Linked DNA regions of Homo sapiens: region 1 is linked to region 2. Evidence: promoter capture Hi-C in human tissues and cell types (Jung and others, 2019). All regions are on one chromosome and are shown on one strand. Each heading gives the region's core, a stretch centred on a gene start or on the middle of the fragment in contact. The rest is flanking DNA. Distances are from core to core; before and after follow the strand shown. Region 1 overlaps C1orf105 (chromosome 1 open reading frame 105). Region 2 holds the start of MYOC (myocilin).

Region 1 (7,499 bases), core at 4,022-6,521, 810 kb after region 2:
TCATTCATTTGCCCAATGTTTGTTGAATACTTGCTGTGTGCCAGGTTCTATCATAGGTTCTAGGAATACAAAGATGTGTAAAACATGATTCTTGCTCTTAAATATAATAACTCTCAGCCCGGTGGAGGAAATAAACACATTTAAAATCAAGAATAGTGCAAATACAAAGAAAGCTAGACCAAGTTTATGATGCAATCAAAGAGGCAGGCACCCAACTGAGGTTAGGAGGGTGAGAAATGGTAGCAGCCCAGGAGAAAGGTTTTCTGAGGATGTAACACCTACACTATGTCTTAAATGAGTAGCTATCAAGGCCAGGTGGGACAATATATAAGCATTTCATCCCTCAGATTCTAAGAGATGACAGTCATTATGTTATGGGACTCTGTACTCACATTTACAGTTGTCATTAACCTAGCAAGATCTTGCAATGCACTTTGGGGATCTTGCAAATAATATCTGTTGCTTGATTTGCAATGAGCTCTGAGATTCCACTTCCTATAGGGTCTAATAGTAGTCTTAGCAGAAACCAGAAGTCTGGAAAAAGGTGAAGGAAATAATTTCAGTGAAGAACTTATATCTCTACTAAAAACAAACCTGCCCAAGAATTCTTCCATATCTGCCTCCCCTTGTCCAGGTCTTCCTCATCCCTTCAGACTGAGTACAAATTCCACTTCTAGGAAGCCTTTCCTGATTTCTCCAATCAGAAGTGGTCTCTCTGTTTTCTGAAGGCACAGAGGTATTAGTGCCTCTTGTATGATATCTAGTGTGTCCTACCTTAATTGCAGTTTCAGAAATGTACCTCACTCTCATACCTCAAAGATGTGAGGGATGGAGGGAGGAGCTGGAGCTTCAGGGGATATCACCCCCAGGGGTATCAGGAAGACATGGTAGAAAGTTGAATCAGCCCAAAGCAGAGGAGTCAATATCCACAGACATTTCCTCTCTAGTCTCTCTTCTCACTCCATTCAACCTCCCACCAGACAACCTGTCCATCCCAACCTACATTCACTTACCCGAAGCTGATTTGCTAGATTATTCTTCCAGGTTGTTGTATAGTGTTTCCTGGGCTTGCAACACCCTCACCATCCTTGTTCACTCCACAAACACCTACCCAAGCATTGCCTGTTTTTTTTTACCCTTCTCAGACCCTTCCCTCTCTGCCCCACCCCCAGTTAAGCTCAATGACCCCTTTCAGCTTCACTGGAGCCTCGATATATTTCTGTTGTAGCACCTTCAACACCATCATACTTCTTGATGTATAGGCTACTGGATGGTGAGCAGCTTGAGGTCACAAACTATGTCTTATTTATTTAAATGTCTCCAGTACCTAATGAATGGGTAAATGAATGAATTTGTATTCTTCTTTTGTCTTCCTTAGAAACTTCCTTCCAGAAACTTTGCTTTATTCGTCGGTATGACCCCCGTCACAGCACCCTTTACTTGGTAGCCTCACAATAGATGTTTACTGTTGAATGAATGAATCTAGTTATTCACACACATACTTTGACATACCAACCCACAACATTGTAATACTGAGTTGATTCTTTTTAGAATGCCCTATAAAAATGAAGTGTATTTTAAATGTTTCTCAAAAGAATCCAACTTTGTTAACAGTTTTTAGCCCTCAAACCCCCCATGATGCATCACCTAAGTGCCATATGTCTCTCACAGGATGAAGCTACTTGCAGAACAATCTGGCAAAGGTCATCCTAGGAGCACACCTCAGGAACTCCTCACTTTCTGTTCCTCCTCTTTCTGTTCCCCACACTTCCCAGGGCAACAGGAATGGGTCAAGGCACACCATGTAGTGATGGGCCAGCAAGCGGATCAAAGGAAAGAGAAGACTTCAGTCAATAGTCTTCTCACTGTGGCTTTCCTCTTCCCCATATTCTGCACTTTCTGTGACCATATCTCATGACTGATGTCAATGTGAATGAGGAAGGTTAAGAGAGAATCCCAAACATAAGTTTAGCCTCAAGTTCCTATATGCTTCCTAAGCAAACTTTTATCAGAGATGCAAATGAGAACCTCCTGAACCCAGGTGTAAATGCTCCAAAGTCCTCTCTTTAATGCTTTTGCAGAAATGAAGTCAGAATAAAAACCAGTGGTTACAGTGAGCAGACACGGTGCCCCTCCCCTTCCTCCACTGATTGCTTCTTCACCTACTGAGACAGCCTCTCTTTCCCAGAGGATTGAGGGGACTCAGGACTCACACACAAGCTTGAGTTCTGCTTGTGGCTTCAATCATTCTGCTTAGGAGGTACAGAAGGGCCAAATGGTGCTGGACCATGGATGCATGAGAGCTGTTTCTGGCCCAGAGTTAAGGCATGAGAAAGGAAGGCGATGCTTAGGAAAGGCCCGTGAAAAAAAGATTTGCAGAAGAGAAGTCTTCTCTTCATTCTTTCTTAGGCCATCAGAGATCCTCAGTCTATATGGTGGAGCCTTTTTATGAAATGGAAAAAATGGCCCACCTATAGGAGAATGCAACCCCTCAGACACAGGTGCTCAGGCTGGAAAGTAGAGACCCCACTGAATTTCAGGCCCCAGCCATCTCTGCCAGCTGTCTTTACATGTATACCACTGCATGCAGCAGCCTCAAGACCACCACCTAGCCTATGTCTCACTCCCTCCTGCCTAAACTCTCGGTACCTACCAGCTGCAGCACACTCCAGATTCAACACCCACCCTGGATGGGGCTGAGACCAGAGTGCCCATCTCTGTTTTACGGAAGGAAAAACTGTTACCTCTCTCACCCCTCCACTGCTTTCCTACATCTTTGCTGCCCTACATGCCCCACCATTTCCTCACCTCTCTCTGTCTCTCTTTCCCCTCAGGCCAGGAGGAACCAGTGTGACTCCATGCTGCTCAGAAACCAACAGCTGTGCTCCACATGTCAAGAAATGAAAATGGTAGGCAAGGGGGAAGACAGAAATGGGCACAGGCATCTCAGGGTGCAGCACTGCCCTTCCCAGCCAAGCCCTGTGGGGAGAGATAGTGACGGGGCCCGTTGCAAGGAGGGCCTAGATAAAGGCTGCCAAGGAGGAACTGTTGGTCCTGGGAGCAGCATCGACTGACAGAACATGATAAACCTTCTCCGTTTCAACAAGCTAAAGGGTAACCAGGATAGATGGGCCAGAGTAGAGATGCAATGAGACACTTCGCCTTGGGCTCCTAAGTAACTACAGCCTCTCAGAGGCTTAGGGGATTATGGAGCTCCTTCTCCCTCCTTAATGTAGCCCCCACACAACACATAGGCTCACACTCATTTCTCCACCGTTACAATCAGGAGACAAACAGCTTCATCTTTGGGTTTACTGTTAATTTAGGTAGCACCTCAAGAGAAAGACTGGGGAGAGAGTCTACAGTACTTTCTAGGTAGTCAGGGGCGGTGTCACCTGCTTTGGGTATTTGTAACATATAGTGGAGAATGGTGGTAGGGGAGGAATATTAGGAAAAGAAAGAAGGAAAGCAAGGGAGATGTGGAGGGAACAAAGACAAACTTCTGCCATGCCATCTATCACAGTTGCTGAATCAGAGGCCTGATTCAGGAAGGATGCTAGACTAGGCTGGAGTTAGGCCTTCGGTAATTTAAGAATTAGAGTTAGCGCTGGGATGGTTGTTAGCGTCAGGGTAAGGAAGAGGCTTTGGTTAAGGGTTAATTTAGCAACATGGTTAGGTTTGAGGTACGAGCTGGAGAAGGGTTTCTTCAACTCTGATATCCTATAATTCTCCTTTGACTTGGGGAGGAAGGTGGGGCTAAATGTGTAGGCTAAACGTGCTTTAAAAGAATGGAAGAAAAATAGAAGATATAAGAAAAGCTCCTTCACTGAGTTCATGGCAAGTCTTAGGTCCAGTCGGATGTGAAAGAGAGTGGCACTTTTGTGAAATTTTTATGTGGGATTTACAAATTTAACTGAAGCTACCGGCAAAGCTGCACCTTGATGTTGCCATCTATGTTCATTTTCTACATAATTAGGGTCACTGTGTTAAATATTAGCATTGGCTGGAGTCTGGGAAACTAGGATTGGGATTTCTCCTGGTCTTATTCCTGGAATCCCTTGTGTCCACATTTAGAATGCACCAACCCCAGGCCTAAGCTGGCCTTGGCCAGCTGGCACACTTGGGACATCAGCAGCCATCCTCTTTCTCAAGACCTCTTCTCTGACCTTTGCCCTTGTCCAGGAATGATAGAAGTGGAGCCACATGCTGCAATTTTACCATTTATTGAAGCTTCTAAAAGGAAGGGCTTCAAACACAAAAGTGCCCAGGGACCCTTCTGTACTGCTGTCAGAACCTGGTGATAAACTACAGAAAGTTAGAAAATAAACATGAAATATCCTTGCCTCACTCTATGCAGTAATACCTCAAAGTCCTCCCAAGGGGAGGGACTGCAGGTCTGCTGTAGTCACTGTGATACCCCTTCTTTCTCAGCAGTGAGTTGAATAGAAATACTGGGGAATATATAAAAAGACTCCTAGGAATAGAAGGGAACTTCCTCAACCTAATAAAGAGCAGCTTGAAAAACTAACAGCTAACACCCTACTTAATGGTAAAAGACTGGATACTTTCCCCTAAGATTAGAAACAGGGCAACAATGTCTGCTCCTGACACTTCTACTCAACATTTTACTATACATTCTAGCCAGAAAGATAAGAAAAAGAAATAAAATCCATCCACATTAGAAAGAAAGAAGTACAACTAGTCTATTTGCAGATGATATGCTCTTATATAGCGAAAGTCCTAAGGAATGCACAGAAAACTATTAGAGCTAATAAATGAGTACAGCAGTGTTGAGGATACAAGATCAGTATATAAACCTTAATTTCTATTAATAGCAGTGAACAACCCAAAAATGAAGAAAACAATGCCATTTGTAATAGCATCAAAAATTATTTAGGAATAAATTTAACACGAGAAGCACAAGAGCTATACAATGAAAAGTATAAAACATTGTGGAAAGAAAATTTAAAAGGCCTAAATAAATGGAAAGAACCCCATGTTTATAGATTGGAACACTTAATATTGTAAAGATGAATATACTCCGCCAAACTGATCTACATATTTAATGTAATCCTCAAAATCCCAGATGCCATTTTTATAGAAATTTGCAATCATATCTTAAAATTTATATTAAAATGCAAGAGATCCAGGATAGCCAAACAATCTTTAAAAAGAAGAACGAAGTTGGAGGTCTCATACTTCTTGATTTTAAAACTAACTACAAAGCTATGGTCAGGACTGTGTGGTACTGCCATAAAGATAGACAAATAGATAAATGGAATAAAATTGAAAGTTCAGAAGTAAATTCTTATGTTTATAAACAATTGATTTTTGACAAAGGCACCAAGACAGTTCAATGAGGAAAGAATAGTATTTTCAATAAGTGGTACGGGGGCAGCTGCATAGATACATGCAAAAGAATGAATTTGTACCTCTTCCTCACACCATGTACAAAAATAACTCAAAATAGGTCAAAGAGCTAAATGTAAGACCTAAAACCATAAAACTCTTAGAAGAAAACATAGGTATAAAGCTTCATGACCTTGGATAAGGCAATGGTTTCTAAGATAGGACACCCAAAGCACAAACAACAAAAGGATATAGATAAATCAGTCTTCATAAAAATTTTAAACTTTTGTTCCACAAAGAACACCATCAAGAACACGAAAAGACAACCCAAATATTTGCAAATCAACAGATGAAGGATTATGTCAGATAAGGGACTAGTATCTGGAATATATAAGGAACACTTAAAACTCAACAATAAAAAGGCAAACACTCTAGTTGAAAAGTGAGCAAAAAGTTTCAATAGACATTCTCTAAAGAAGATCTACAAATGACCAATAAACACATGAAAAGATACTCAACATTATTTGTTGTAAAGCAAATGCAAATCAAAACCACAATGAGACACACTTTCCATCCACTAGGATGGTTGTAATAATAATAATAATAAAACGGTGGATAATAACAAGTGTTGGCCAGGATGTGGAGAAATTAGAAGCCTCAAAAATTGCTGATGGGAATGTAAAACAGTACAGTTGCTTTGGAAAACAGTTTGGGAATTCCTCAAAACCTTAGACACAGAGTTACCATATGACCCAGCAATTCCATTCCTAGATATGTACCCAAGAGAACTAAAAACATATTCACACACAAAATTCTACAAGAATGCACATAGCAGCCATATCTTAATAGCTGAAAAGTGGAAATAACCCAAATGCCTAGGGCTTGATTAATGGATAAACAAAACGTTGTCTATCTATATAATAGAATATTAATCATAAAAAAGAATGAAATACTAAAACATGCTATAACATGGATGAACCTTGAAAACATTTTGCTAAGTAAAAGAAACCAGATGCAAAAGATCACATATTATACTGGTTCCATTTATATGAAATGTCCAAAATAGGAAAATTCAGAGACAGAAAATAGACAGTGGTTGTCAAAGATTGGGGAGAGGAGTGAGTGAGAAGCAATTGCTAATAGGTATGTGGTTTCTTTTTGGGGTCATGAACTGTTCTAGGAATAAACAATGGTGGTTGTTTTACAACTTTCTGAATATACTAAAAACTACTAAATTGCACATTAAGATGGTGACTTATGATACATGATATCATAAACACCGATAAAAAGAAATTAGCACTAAATAAAAGCACAAAATAGATGAATCTCAAAAAAATGTAAATAGGACCTGGTTATGTAACTACTCATATTCCTATGTAACCTTGGGCTAGAAGCTCAATCATTCAGTGCAGAAGAAATACCTGCTGACAGTTATGGTTGTGAATCACCAGTGATATTTGCCTTGGTTTTATCTAGGCTGTGTTTCATCATGTCTCTGCTCCAAACAGCTCATCTTCCCCTTAATGCACCTATTCTGTAGTCCTTCTGTTATCTGCATTACTCTCTAATTAACACCTTCAAGCCCCTTAAAAGTAGGACCATCAAGCTAGACAACTGTAAACAGATATTCTCTAACATATATTAAAAAATAGTTTCAAAATAAATTAAGTTTATTTCAACAAATATTGATTGATTGTCTGCCATGGGCCAGGTACTTAGGTAAACTACAAAGAAAAAAAAAGAAATACATAAGACCTGTCTTTAAGGAGTCAACAAATAAATAAATAATGACAACAGAATGTAATCAATATAAACAGAAATAGATCTGATGGGGAGTGAAGGGGCAGTGAAAGTAAATATCAAGGAAGTCTTCCTTGAAGAAAAAGACTATTCAGGGTTTTCAAGAATGAATAGGAGTCTCCCACAGTACACTTTTTCTCAAAAACAAAAATCCTGTCTTTGGCAGGCAGCTTTGTTCTGATGCAGCCCCTGTAGCACAGTTCATTCATACAATAGCGCTAGCTGGATTTAGGGGATTTAGAACAGCAATCATGCTATTCAGGAGGAGTTACAGTTTCCTGCATCTTCCCTTGGAGCAGAGTCAACTTTAGATAAATTTTTGAATAAAGCAGTCTGTCTCTGGCACATTC
Region 2 (7,172 bases), core at 1,139-3,638:
ACTTCTGGTAATGATGATTCTTTCAATTGTCTCCACAGATTCAAGTCTCAAGCTCTACCACTGACCAGCTGGGCAACCTTGGCCCCTTAGCATCTTAGGACTTCACTTTCCTTGGTTGTAAAATTCAGAATTGGATCTCTTCTAATTCTAACAATCTAAACATTTTTTAAAAATCCTTTACATCTTATAGGTATTTCATGTGAACCCCACAAAAATTATTCACAGCAGGAATTTTCTTTGTTATGTTATGGACAAGAAATGAAGATGCAGAGGGTTCAATAACTTGCCCAAGGTCATCCCCAGGCTCTGGCTCTTAGGTTTTCTAACCCCATAGCTATGAAGAGCTTGCCTTTCACGTAGAAGGCTCTTTTTAGGAAATATTTTCTCATAATTTTAAAGCTTTTCAAGCCTATAGAAAAACTGAAAGAATAGTACAATAAGCTCCCCATATACTTAGATTCACCAGTTTGTAATTCACCAGTTATTAATATTTTGCCACAGTTGTTTTACCTTTCTTTCTCTCATTATCTATATATTTGCAGTCTTTCTTCAACCATTTGAGAGCAAATTGCAGACATCCTGACGCCTCACCCTGGGTACTTAAGCATGTATCTCCATAGAACAAAGATTTTATCCTTCGCAACCACAGTATCATTATCTCACCAAGAAACTGAACATTAATACAGTAACATAATAATGAGCAGTCAAATTGCCTCAGTTATCCCAAACCTGTTCCTCATAGCCTTTTTCCCCCTTGGATGAAGACACCAATCAAGACTCATGCACTACATTTGGTTAACACATTTCTTTAGTCTCTTTAATATAGAACAAGCCCTTCCCCACCCCTTTTTTCTTTCTTCCTTGGCACTGACATCTTTGACCAGTCCAAACTAATTGTCCAACAACTGGATTTGCTTGCTTATTTCCTCATGATTAGAACACTTCCTCAACAGGGAATATTTGGGAGCCCACTTTCACAAAAAGTGACACAAATACCATCTTCCCAGCTAATAAGAAGACCTCCCCCAACACCTCACCCCCGCACCCCCCCCACACACACACAGACTCACCTTTAGGCAAGAAGGGACCAGGATGAACAGAAGAGCCTCTCAGAAAAAGCCATCTCAAGAATTTGTCTGATGACTTAAAAGCAGAGGTTCTCAGATTGGACTGAGTAAGAAAACTTTCAGAACAACATATTAAGAAAACTGACAGAGAGGTGCCATCTCTTTATTTTGCCAGGGAAGAACATTTAAAAATAAACAAAAACTTACCACTTATTATCATTTCCCAAATCTATTGTAATTTCATAAATAAAGGTCATTTTAACATCAAAAGGTACAAATAACAATCTGAGCAAAGGTTCAAAAAAGGATAGTTTTTCAAAAGGGACAATTGACAACTTTCTACTGCTCATATGCAGACACATCTCACCCGGTCCTTTTATTTCTCCTTTTGCTATGGACTGTGAAAACTGACATGGAGGGGCACAAGAACTCTGAACCACTAATCTAAATGAAGCTCTCAGGAGCTAAATTACTAGTAATACTTGAAGGTGATCGCTGTGCTTTCCTTAATTCATCTGTCTTGTGCTAGCTGTGCAGTCTCTAGGAGAAAGGGCAGGCAGGGAGGCCTGGAGCGCCTGTAGCAGGTCACTACGAGCCATATCACCTGCTGAACTCAGAGTCCCCCCACTCTGCATTCTTACCTTCTCTGGAGCCTGGTGGCACAGCCCGAGCAGTGTCTCGGGTCTGGGGACACTGGCCCCTTCTCAGCCTTGCTACCTCCTGGCTGCTGCTTTCCAACCTCCTGGCCAGATTCTCATTTTCTTGCCTTAGTCGCTTCTTCTCTTCCTCCAGAACTGACTTGTCTCGGAGGAGGTTGCTGTAGGCAGTCTCCAACTCTCTGGTTTGGGTTTCCAGCTGGTCCCGCTCCCGCCTCAGGGTGCCCAGCTCCCTCTGCAGCCCCTCCTGGGTCTCCTGGGGCCTGGCAGCCTGGTCCAAGGTCAATTGGTGGAGGAGGCTCTCCAGGGAGCTGAGTCGAGCTTTGGTGGCCTCCAGGTCTAAGCGTTGGGTGCTGCTGTCTCTCTGTAAGTTATGGATGACTGACATGGCCTGGCTCTGCTCTGGGCAGCTGGATTCATTGGGACTGGCCACACTGAAGGTATACTGGCATCGGCCACTCTGGTCATTGGCCTTCCTGAGCTGAGCTGTCCTGGCCCCCACATCCCACACCAGGCAGGCCAGAAGCAGCAGCTGGACAGCTGGCATCTCAGGCCCAAAGCTGCAGCAACGTGCACAGAAGAACCTCATTGCAGAGGCTTGGTGAGGCTTCCTCTGGAAAGCTCTGCTGTGCTGAGAGGTGCCTGGATGGGTGGCCTTGCTGGCTCATGCCCGAGCTCCAGAGAGGTTTATATATACTGGGGAGCCAGCCCTTCATGGGGGAAGACAGAGGTGGCCACGTGAGGCTGGGTGGGGCTGTGCACAGGGGGGTTGCCTTCACGCTGCCAGCAAGATTCTTAGAAAATAACCTTCCAGAAGTCTGTTTGGAGTTTCTTTTTAAAAAGAACATCCCAATTTATGCACCCATACCCCAATAATAGTTCCTATATCTCCACCTGGTTTTACACACACACACACACACACACACACGTACACACACTTACACCAGGACTACTGGTGTGCTGATTTCAACAAGGATATATTTCTAGTTTATATTTCCATTCACTCTGCAAACTCATTGAGAACCTGCACTGTGCCAGGCACTATGCTAGGAACTGGAGATCCAAACAAGTCCTTTAAGACGTAGCAGGGACAGAGAAAAATAACAGCCAGCCAGAACACAAGGACAGCACCCTACCAGGCTCCAGGGAGAGCATTCCTATAGAAGCGGCAGATTTCCCCCCTCACCCCTAGCTTTAAAACAACTGTGTATCTTTGGGAGAACTTTCTAATTTCAGTCTTGCATCTCAGGCACCAATGTCAATGTTAGCCTCTAAATCAGTTCTTACTCTGTGTGTGTGCATGCCAAGAACCTCATTGGTGAAATCTGGGGAACTCTTCTCAGAAAGATGTTTTCAAATATATAAAATATAGATTACAAAGGAAACAAATGATAATGAAATATGATTATCAAAATATCAAAATTTTAAACATGTTTTATTAATATGTTAAAAACAAGATCCAGCAGGAGGTCTAATTTCAAAGTAGTTTTGAGTATAAATATTTCACTTACAACGTATCTGCAACAACTGTAATATAGTATAAAATGTCTGTGATTTCTATTGGTAATGACAAAATCACAGGTACTGTTATTACCACTTTGAGTTTATGGCTCTATTCGCAATGGAATAAAATGTTAAATTTAGTTAGAAGGTGGTAAAAACAAAAATGTAATTTTTTCCTCATTCAAATTCACAGGCTTTCTGGACTGTAGGTTAATAATCCCTGCTTTACATTAATAAACCCAAAGAGAAAAAACAAAAAGCAAATGGCAATAGCCAATAAATATACCAAAACTGTCAGAAGTAACTTTAAGCCACTTGAAATAATGATTGCCTTTGAGCAACTTTATGTTGTTAATACCAACAACAGTGTCAATACTTGTGAAGTAAATATTTCCAAACTGCCCTGGCAGACTCACCTCCAGAGTGGAGAAACACAGTTTGCTCTAAAGATTCTATTCTTATTTGATTGGTTCTGCAGTTAAGCCTGAACTTGAGACATTTACAAATGGGTGTTTGTTTACAGCTGACCAAAGGGTACTAGTCTCATTTTCTGAATCAGATAGTAAACATCGCTGAAATGATTTTTCAAAAAACCAATCATATAGTCAGCAAGACCTAGGCTTGAATCTGTTTGGCTTTACTCTTAGGAATGTTTTCTTCCTGTTAAAAGAAACGGGATTGCCCTTGTGCTGCTAACTCCACAGAGAAAAAGAGTTCCTAATAAGGAGAAACTAAGTAATCTTACAGCCTCAGTTACTACCTTGTGACTTGCTCAGAATTACTCAGCTTGTAAAGGAAAAATATAGTATTAGAAATCAGGTCTCCCGACTTCCCTTGAACTGATTTTTTCCCCCCACAATATAGCCCTGCCTCCTAGAACCCAGGATCACGTGGACTATAATCCCTGTGGTCAATTCCCACTGCCCTTGAATGAATCTGTCTTTCTTGCTCATACACTATCCCTCTCTTTTTCTTCTCCTCCCCTGCGCTGCAGGTCACTCCGTGCTGTCAGCAGTCACTGCTGAGCTGCGTGGGGTGCTGGTCAGGGTGAAAAGTTTAACAATCTCTGGCATTTTCCACTTGCTCTGGCCCAGTTTTTGAATGCCAGGCAAAAGCTACCACCAGTTAGTCTCTGCATTCTTTTTGGTTATTGGCAAATGCCATTGTCTATGCTTAGGGAAGGAAAATGTGGCTGTTGGGTTCATTGAGCTTTCCTGAAGCATTGTGGCTCTCGGTCCTGGAGTCTGACGTGATCAGTGAGGACTGATGGAGCACCCAGCTTCTGCCTGCCTTCCTGTCCCCCTCCACCTCCCCTGTGGCTCAGCTGCTCCAGCTCTGCCTCCTTCCCCTCTCAACATCCCCCCTCACAGAGAATCACAGGGAAGTGTTCACAGAACACGAGAGCTGCAAGGGTCTTTATAGCAGAGAAGACTATGGCCCAGGGAAGGAGAGACACTTGCCCACGGTCGCACAGCCAACCAATGGCAGAACCAGAAAGAAAACCGAGTCTCCTGATTCCAAGGTTTTCGACCGTCTTGCATAAGCCAAGTCCACCACAGGGCTGAGTAGTTGCCCAGAAGACATGAAAGAAAAGACTCCAGTCACTTCTTCCGTGAATTAACGGCCTAGGAAATGAGCTCGCTTCCTATATTCCCATTAAATAAAGGCCTTCGTGAAGGAAAACCCATGCACACCCTGGAATTTTAACAGCTGACTTTATGAAACTGCATCCCTTCATGAAATAGACTTCTTCTCCTCCAAGCAGAGAAAAGATAAAAAGGCTCACAGGAAGCAACGGAAAACTCCCAGCCCCGTGAACAACACTGAACATCTGGGCAGCTTCAGCCTTGCCCTTTTCACCTTCCTGCCTTTCAGCACCCGCTCAGCCCCAGCGTCCCCACTCCCTGCAGTCCCCACCTCCTGGAATTCTCCTGGACGTGGAGGCCCCTTTCCCTCTGAGGAAACACTGTCCCCTCCAGATTCTCCGTTAGACTAGTTTCCCTCTCCATTTCCTTTCTGGAGCCTGGAGCCAAGGAGTCTCCAGCTCAGATGCACCAGGACGATTCACGGGAAGCGAGGCAGGCCAGCTGCAGCGCTGTGACTGATGGAGGAGGAGGCTTGGAAGACTCGGGCTTGGGGGCCTCCGGGCACGATGGAGGCAGCAGGGGGCGCTAGGGAGGTGGCCTTGTTAAGGGATGCTGCGCACAATTCTTCAAGATGGTGTTTATTTCCTTTCTTTCAGCACTGGGTTTAAGTTGGCTGGCTATTAATTTTCTTCTGCACGTCTTCCATGAGAAACTGTCACCTCCACGAAGGTAGGGCAGTGACTGCTTTGCTCACCATTTTGTCTCTGGTGTCTGGCAGATATAAGTACTCAATAAATTGTCAATGAATGCCTGGATGAATGAACGAGTCACACAGAAATAGAAAGCAACAGGTCCCTAGAGAGTGATAACAAAACAACCAGTGGCACGGGCTGGCAGGTTGCTCAGGACACCCAGGACCCCGGGTGCTTGCAGGGCTCCCCCAGCTGGAGAGGAAACCTCTGCCGGGGGCTTCAAGGAGTCTCTGGGGTATGCCCTCCTCCCCTATACACACACACAGATGGCCCCAAATGGAACTAGTTTATGTATACTCTTATTTCAGTAACGATGTGGAGGCTTACCACAAAAGCATGGTGAATAAAATGGTAACTTAGCCTGAAAATGAGGATGAGGGAAGAAAGTGATGAGGACCAGTGGTCTGGGACTAGGCAGGCAGCTCATGGCACCATTCCCCATCCCAAGAATCCCTGAAATTATCACAGCTTTTGTCTGTTTCCCTGTTGGTTTAGTAAACCATTCAAGTTATTCCTTATTAAACACTGACCCTTGGCCGGGCGCGGTGACTCATGCCTGTAATCCCAGCACTTTAGGAGGCTGAGGTGGGTGGATCACCTGAGGTCAGGAGTTCAAGACCAGCCGGGCTAATATGGTGAAACCCCATCTCTACTAACAATACAAAAATTAGCCGGGCGTGCGCCTGTAGTCCCAGCTACGCGGGAGGCTGAGACAGGAGAATTGCTTGAACCTGGGAGGCAGAGGTTGCAGTGAGCTCAGGTGTAGAGCATACAGGTAGGTGTAAGACACAGACCCTCACCCTCACGGAGCTTCTGGCTGTAACATCGTGATGCAGAAGTCTAGAGTGGGGAGACTTCCTGTGGAGCGGGATGGGCTGCACAGGGGAGGTGGCATTTGTAATGGGACCTACTGAGATGACACGTTAACAATGGTTGAGGCACTTGGGTTGTAGATGTGGTTGTAGGTCAGACACATCGGGCCTGTGTGTGAGGGCTATGACAGATCATTCTGAAAAAGTTAGGATGGGGACACAGTGATTTCTAATGATTTCTGACCTATCCGGAGCTGGGACACGTTATCCTTGTATGCCTGACTTTATAAAATTGGGACCCATGTCTAAACTGATTATGCATCGCATATTTGTTTTATACTTAAAATGGTTAAAATTCATGATCTTTCAAGAGTTTCTTAAGATTCCTTAAGAAAACTGGCCTTCCTAAAGGCAAATGCCTCAGGGTCCCTGCTGAGGGGCACTGCTGCTTTGAAGGCTCACAATGTTCTGGTTGCCTTTTAACCATGTCTTTTGTTTTGCTCTCAGTTTTTCATATTTCCCTTGAAAGTCCAGGCTTAGCCCAGTCAATTTTTGTGTTCCCTGGTATAGACGGGGAGGTGTTGCGAACATGGTCAACTGCCTAATCACTGTTATGAAAGCTTTCCCAGTCCCCATTTTCCTCCTGCATTTGCGGAATTTTGATTTTGCTGTTATTGTTATGTCCTTTGCTAACATGACCTTCCTGAACTTGCCTCCCCAGAGTGATGCCATCTGGTTTTTAAAATAATAATCCACTTTGGGATCTGATCAGATCATGCTTTTGACGTTTTTCCCA

What was found. The method cuts DNA at HindIII sites, captures the fragments that hold promoters and counts their contacts. A contact is called where the count stands out against the background at its distance.
Region 1: a contact is called between a fragment that was not itself captured here and the fragment with the promoter of MYOC in region 2, in 1 of the 25 tissues and cell types used here (hippocampus).

Annotation. Positions count from the first base shown.
Region 1 is chr1:172,453,581-172,461,079 of GRCh38, forward strand. C1orf105 (chromosome 1 open reading frame 105) reads left to right here. Exons shown (of 7, transcript NM_139240.4): 4 at 2,835-2,909. Among named protein-coding and RNA genes, the nearest start is that of PIGC, 13 kb to the left of the region's middle. The HindIII fragment of the contact is 4,092 bases long and covers 3,226-7,317 here.
Region 2 is chr1:171,650,300-171,657,471 of GRCh38, forward strand. MYOC (myocilin) reads right to left here and starts at 2,389. Exons shown (of 3, transcript NM_000261.2): 1 at 1,709-2,389. The coding sequence starts at 2,312. The HindIII fragment of the contact is 9,045 bases long and covers 1-7,172 here.